Regions from separate parts of the Homo sapiens genome. Here region 1 is linked to region 2. The links are contacts of gene promoters, found by promoter capture Hi-C in blood cells and fetal thymus (Javierre and others, 2016). All regions are on one chromosome and are shown on one strand. Each heading gives the region's core, a stretch centred on a gene start or on the middle of the fragment in contact. The rest is flanking DNA. Distances are from core to core; before and after follow the strand shown.

Region 1 (3,387 bases), core at 606-3,105, 230 kb before region 2:
CTGTCCTGCCAGGGGGTTTTATCCCTGGAGCACTTAGCATAGAGCCATCCACTGTGCGAACACAGCAGCACACGGCGTTACAGAAAGATCCCAAACACATACACACATCGCCTGGCTGTCCTGCCATGGGTTTTATCCCTGGAGCACATAGCATAGAGCCATCCACTGTGCGAACACACCAGCACATGGCGTATAAAACATGTACAATTGCAACCACCGACACTCCCAACTGCAGCGAGATAAGCTCACCAGACCAACAGCAACAGCGGCAGAAAGGGCGCTCCTACCTCCTCATCCAGTGTTTTCCCCACTCTTCAAGTAGGTGATTTTTTAAAGTTTATCACAAAAAAAAGACAAACCTTTTTTCCTAATGTACCTGATCACATTCAATCTTTTTTTAAAATTAACTTAAGCTGTGATTGTAGACAAAGCTCAGTAAAACTGCTCATCTCTGCAACCCATGCTCAATTGAGGCCGTTTCTGAGTTCCGATTATTACAAAGTGACTCTGCTCTATATCTGGACCTCACAGAGAGGCAATCTTCCATTTCAGCAAGGATGCAGAAACAGATTACTGAGGGCAAGGGTGAAGGAAGCTCCCCTAACTTCCAAATGCACTGACTGCCCAAAATGTGGGGATCGCCCCCGCCCACCCGCCGGCAGCAGCCTCCGCCTGTAAATGGGTTGGGGATTTGCGTTGGAAGGCTGTGGCCCTCCCGCTATGTTCCTAAAATTTATTACCAGAAAAAAAAACTAAAATTTATCCAATACTTCAGTTTTCCCAACTTATCCCAGATGTTGCTCTTTGCCCCAAAGCAATTTTACCAAAACCATTCCCCGGGAAAGCCTCGACCTTTGTCCCCTTGCATTTTGAGTAACCATTTGGGCAACTGGAAAAAAGCTGCTGCTGCCTTCAAACGTTGGTTCGCCCTTTCCTTTGACCCTGGAGACCATAAGCGAATCCGGAACTGCCAACGTCGCTCACCCCAGAGACTGAAGTTCCCTATCGCGCACCTAACCATAATTTCCAATGACGGCGCCCGCACACCTCAAAGATAAGGAACGCGGTGCTGGGTCTTTGACTCCTGAGCAGGCGTGCGCCAGGCGTTTACAACTCGGCTTCGAAGAAAGTTTTTGTTCACACCCGAAACCAAAGTATCTGTGCATTAACTCACGGGCTCAGGCAGATAACGAAAGGCTTTTCCCAGCATTTACGACGCGGCACTTCCAAGGGTGCGCTGAATCCTGTCTGTCCCCAGAGGTAGCCGACCGGTCCCCGTCTCCACCGACCTCCCCTGGCGGCCAGCGTCTCACACGCGGCTTGTCCGCCTGGGAGCCAGCATCGTCCTCTCCCGCCGGCTTCCAAAGGGCCGGGGCGCCCTTACCTCGCTGACGATGGTGGAGTGGGCCTGGGCGTAGCGCCAGCCGCCGCGGCACGGCACAAGGGGAGCCGAGCGGTTGGGGAAGGCGGCGAGTGGGTCCGCGCAGCTGAGAGCGCTAGTGGCGGAGGCGCTGTCGTTGGCCGCCTCCAGGAGGTAGCGCTGGCAGCGGCCGCGGCGCTCGGGGGGCTCTGGGCCGCGGGAGGCGGGCGCCGTGCGGTTCCACTCCTCCTCCGGGCTCCAGCCGCAGCGCTCGGCCAGCGCCGCGGCACTTGGCCCGCGGCACCAGTAGTGGTCGGGCTGCGTGCCCAGGAAGACCACGCCGACGAAGAGGAAGGCGAAGGTGACGCCCGTCAGGCACAGCAGCAAAAACACGCGCCTCTGGAAGCGCCCGAACTCGCCCACCCGCTGCAGCGCCTCGTCGAAGGAGGGCATGGTGCGCCCGCCGCCCGCCGCCCGCAGCCCGCGCCTCGGAGTGACCCGCGGACCCAGCCGGCGGCCTCTCTTTACTCCGCCGCCTCCCCCGCGCCACCCGCCTCACTCGCCCTGGCGCTGTGCCGGCCGCAGCCGCTCCTCCTGCCCCCCGCGGCCCCCGCCTCTCTTCCCCGGGCGCCCGCAGCAGCCCCGGGCCACAGGTCGCGGGAGGGACGGCCGCGAGCCGGACGCACCCGGCCGGGGTGGGCGCGCGGTGGGGCTCGGGCGGTGCGGCCTGACTACGCGCCAGGGACCCGGCCGGGACCGCGAGTGACGGGCGCAGCCTCCGGCCTGGCGCGGAGCTCCTTTTGGTCCCTGCCAGCAGCCTGCTCTGCAGTCAGCCCCAGGTCGGGCTCCAGAAGAAGAAAGTTCCAGGGTCACCCGACCACTCCCGGAACTTCTGGGACCCGATCTCTCAGCGGCCCGGAGTGCAGCCCGGGGACTAAGGACGCGCGCGCGCGCCCCGGGTCCGGTGCCTGTGCCCGGGAGAGCCCCCTCCAGCCCTTGGCCCTTGCGCGTGCGGAGGCCTCCTGCGCCCATGTGGGGCAGGGCAGGGCAGGGCAGGGCAGGGCAGGGCAGGGCAGGGCAGGGCTGCCCGTTCCCAGCACAGCGCTGGCCATCGCCCTCGACCCATCGAGAGCTACAACTTGGGATTTGATCACCCAACTTTCCCCAGAGGGCAGCCGGGCAACCCACACAGGCGAAGGGGCTTGCTCAGCGTCCAGGAGGTTTGGGGTGAGAAGGGATCGCCTCAAGGCCAGGCCTGATGCAGACCTCCTTCGCCAGGGCCTTCCCACCCACCTTCGGTCTGAACGCCAGGGAAGGGTGTTGGTGGTTGGTTTGAATCCTGGTTTTTCCGCTTACTTATTGCGCCTGCCAATTCGGCAGAGCGCGATCAGAACTTCCCGCCCAGGCTGCCCAGGCTGCTGGGTCCATGCTGGGACGCCTTCCCCGGGCTGGGTCGCGGTCCCCCCACGCCCCCACGTTATCGGCCCACGTTCTGCCTTTAGCTCACTTTTCTCCAAGGCCTTGGGAGGACTTGCGGTTCCTCCTCCGGAACAAGGAGTTTGAAGCCAGGCTGCTTGGATTCAAACTGGCCTCATGTCCTCACCAGCAGTTTCAACTGCCCGCTGGACCCCAGACTCAGTCTGTCCCCCTCCAACCCAGCTCCCCTTTCCTGCCCTGCCTTTCGGTGCAACCATGTCCTGGGCCCAGACTCAGAACCTCAGTATGGCGGGGACACCACTCACTCCTCAGGCCTGTACTCTTAGGTCATCTCGGCTTGGAACCCCTTTTGCCAATGTTGGAGCTCAGAAAACAATACGCCAAAATGAAGGCCTCAGAAGCAGTCTCTGTGTCATCTTCTGCCCTCCTGTCTCTCGGTCCCATTCTCCCCCAGGCTAGCCATCGAAACCAGAACGCTTTTCCCCAAAGCCAGTCATAAAACAAAAATATCACTGTGATTTTCCCTCACTTGTCTGTGTAAAAACTGGCCATAAAGAAATCAACTGTTCTACCTTGTTGATTGCAGTCCT
Region 2 (3,698 bases), core at 901-3,400:
CGTCTATGATCAGCTCAGAGCTCAGCAGCTGAGATCTCTACCTTCTTAGAGCCCACCAGTCCCTTTCCGCCCTGCTCATGGCATTCACCACAGGCGGCCTTGGGCTGTCATTAAACGAACACTGGTCTCATTCTTGCCATCCTCTTCCCCTCTCAGTCCCCACAAGACTGCAGACTCCTTGAGGGACCTCACAATCTTCTTCTGCATCTCCCCTGCGGCATCACACCCAGTGCCAGAATAGAGGGAGTATGCCGAACATACTGGGTGGATGTCTGACTGGAGGAATGATCACATCTGATCTCCTCAAAGCAGAGTATGTCTCAGTCCCAGAGAGCAAACACATCCTCATCCTGGTCTGCTTCTAGATTCCCAGTGGGAATGTCAGATGGTTGGAGATCCCTGGAAGGTGGGCTGCCTAACTTGTCATCCATTGTTGGAGGATGCCTTGGAGACAAGATGTCTCTTCAGCATCGTAAAGCCAGTTGCACCGGCACCTGCTCTGCTCCAGGCAAGCAGGTAGAGCAATGCTCAGGCCCAGAGGGGAGGGACCCTAAGCTTTCCTCCAGTAATAGCCCTAAATGTGTCACCGCTGATACCACTCAGGAAAGGGAAAAGAGGAAGAACAGAGACCCAAGAAGTCCGGAGAGCTTGGGCGAGGGTAGTGGGGGCAGACAAGTGGGCAGGACCAGAGGCAGGGAGGGCCCAGTTACCTCTTATTTCAGGGAAGCAGTGCCTGCACCAAAACCACGCCACTGCTCGTTACTAACAGAAGGCCCCTGACGGGCTTTGGCCCACAGCTTCTCCAACCCACCAAGCATCCACACTTGTTACCGTGCAATAGTTTCAAAAGGGCTCATGATGGGAAAAAAATGTGGTGACACTTTTTACTAAAGGATTCTCAAAGCAAAATGCTCAAATAACCAAGTAAACTACTCAAGCAAGGCCCTTTTGAGGCCATCGCCCTATCCCATGGGCCCCATCGGACTGCACGGTGTGACTCAGTTTGGATTTGCTCAGTGCTTTCACAGATCCCAGCTGAAGCTCACACCCCTATGAGGCAGCCGTCATCATCCCTGGTTGACTGATGAGGAAATGAGGCTTAGAGAGGCAGTGACTTACCCAGTGATGCTCAGCTAATAAGGGGCACAGCTGGGATTCCACCAAATATTCTCACTTCCAAGCCAGGGCAATTCCAGGCCACCTCAACACCATCATTGAGGTCAATCGTCATCACTCTTGAGCAGAAGGAGGGGGCCCACAGTACTATTGGTGGGGAAGCGGGACCCAGAGCAAGTTGATAGTTCTGGGAGAAGCCAGTGGGGCAGGCAGAGAGGCTCCTGGTCTCCCAGTCAACTCCCATTCAAGCAACCTGGCAACCTGGCCCCCGACTTGTGCTAGCTGTTCTCTCCTGCCTCAGCTTCCTCCTCAAAGACCCAGAGTTTGTGGTGGATTAAACTAGAGAAGAGAATGCCCCGTGCCTGGGACACAGCCAGACACCCACGAACTGCACAATAAACATAGCCCCCTACCTCTTTCCTGATATGGAACTGAACTTCATAGGATTTGCTTTATATTTCTCCCTGTCCCAGGAACTCCCATGTTACAGAGGCTTTTTTACCTCAGTGACGATGGAAGAGCCGGGCGTGTCATACACCCAGCCATCCTGGCAGGGACCCAGCGGCAGGTGGCTCCTGTTGGTGGCCAGGCTAGCCAGGGGGTCTACACAGCTGAGGGCGCTCTGGTTCCAGTCCACTTCATAGCGCCTGCACTGGCCAAGGAAGGCCTCGCCCGCGGGCCCCAGGCCTGGCACTGTATAGTTCAGCTCCTCCGCAGGGCTCCAGCCACAGCGCTGGCTCAGCTCAGCCACCCCAGGACTCTGGCAGTGGTGGTCAGGTGTGAAACCCAGGAAGACGATGCCCACACAGATGGGCGCAAAGGCAGCCGACAGCAGGCATAAGATGAGGAAGGCTTGCTTCTGGAACCAGCCAGACTCCCCAACCTGCTCCAGAATGTCATCCACGGTGGGCATGATGGCTCAGCATGCTCATGGCCGTGGCCAGACCTGCTCTGGGCTGCAGTGGCCAGGTGCAATGTCTCCCTCAGAGATCTTTGAAAAGGAGTGGTTTGAAATCAGTTTGCTGTCCAAGTGTGAAACATCTGGAAGGCAACCAAGTAGAAATAATCTTTTACCCTATGGTGCTGGTTTCAGGAAAAGGAAGAATGCACGTGGCCATCTGATCAAATCGTTTGCTTTGCCCGGGAGCGAGTCAGTGGGGTCTAAGCCCGAAGAGAATTGAAGTTCAGCCACAGAGCAAGAAGAGGGCAGGAGAGCAGGCCGTGCAAACCTCCTAGTAGCTCCCTCAGGGCTCTTCCAAAAAGAATATCTACTTGTTTTCTAGATGTGATGGTATGAGGCAAGTATTGGGTGACAGCCAGGTACTAGATACTGTATTCGGCTAATTAGTTCTGTGATACCATTTAAGTATTTTTTTTAGTTTTTTTTTCCCATAGGTTTTGAGGGAACAGGTATTATTTGGTTACATGAGCAGGTTCTTTAGTGGTGATTTGTGAGATTTTGGTGCATCCATCTCCCAAGCAGTATACACTGCACCCAATTTGGGTGTTTTAAGCTCCACCTCTTCATTTGTGTGTGTGTATACATGTCTAGATGTGTTTACTTGTATGTACACTTACTGTTATATGTTGTGTCTACCAAATTGGCTTATAAGTAAAAGAGTGTTCATAAATTAAGTAAATAAGTCTAAGCAATTTTCAAATTCACTTAAGTATGACTTTGCTAAATAGGCTGTCTTTTAAATTATCAGTAAAATGAAAATAGAAATGTCTTCAAAATATAGACATGGTCTAAATTATGCAAGTCAGAAACTAGGTTGACTAAATGCTTTAAGGTCATAAACTGCTTTGGCTTTTGAAAATTGTTCAACTTTCCTGCTTTGCAGTTTGGTAGGGCCTGCCCTAGCTATGCTGGAAATAGTTAGACCTCATCTGCACCTAAGTACGTAACTAAAATAACTTACTGGGTATTTCACCAAAATTAACAATTACTAAGAGCTACCATTATAACATGTAGTGATGACTACTGAAAACAGATCTACACGTGAGGTGAGTAAGGAGAGTAAAATGTATCATTAGTAAAATAATATAAGAAGGCATGGGAATGTAAATTTTTGCCTAGTTCAGAGGGTTAAATGATTGTTTTAAATTATATAAGATAAAGCTTAAGGTTCAAACAAGTTATGGAAGGTTTGTAAAAAATTAATCTTGTAAAAGGAATCCTGTGTGTAAACATATTGACTACACTAAAAAGGATATTATTTGGTTTTCCATAAGTTGAACAATGGAATACAAGCACAACAAGGTTTTCTTGAAGCACTTACATGCTGTTTAACAAAAAAAATTTGTAAAAGGTTATAAAAGATTTATAACAATCTCAGTTCATGATCAAACTGATTAAGATTGGATGGATTTCTCTGTAAGGTTTTATTTTTTTTAATTGGGGTTGACATTAATAGACTAATGTAAGGGTAAAATTTGGCTTTCACTTGAACAAGATTTTCATGCAATGAAAGATTTTGTTTTCTTTGTGAATAAGCTACTGACACAAGAAGGGAAGGACAAGAGATCAACAGGACTCCAGGGTCAATAGGGCTCCATAGCTGAGGGGAAGGGAGCTCAGC

Evidence for each region. The method cuts DNA at HindIII sites, captures the fragments that hold promoters and counts their contacts. A CHiCAGO score of 5 or more calls a contact.
Region 1: a contact is called between the fragment with the promoter of SLC22A3 here and the fragment with the promoter of SLC22A1 in region 2, in 1 of 17 cell types (total CD4 T cells). The highest score is 7.0, in total CD4 T cells.

The regions. Positions count from the first base shown.
Region 1 is chr6:160,346,846-160,350,232 of GRCh38, reverse strand. It overlaps SLC22A3 (solute carrier family 22 member 3), which reads right to left and starts at 1,855. Exons shown (of 11, transcript NM_021977.4): 1 at 1,385-1,855. The coding sequence starts at 1,813. The HindIII fragment of the contact is 11,280 bases long and covers 1-3,387 here.
Region 2 is chr6:160,120,267-160,123,964 of GRCh38, reverse strand. It overlaps SLC22A1 (solute carrier family 22 member 1), which reads right to left and starts at 2,150. Exons shown (of 11, transcript NM_003057.3): 1 at 1,619-2,150. The coding sequence starts at 2,029. It overlaps LOC124901452 (a long non-coding RNA gene), which reads left to right and starts at 2,270. Exons shown (of 2, transcript XR_007059842.1): 1 at 2,270-3,123. The HindIII fragment of the contact is 2,683 bases long and covers 558-3,240 here.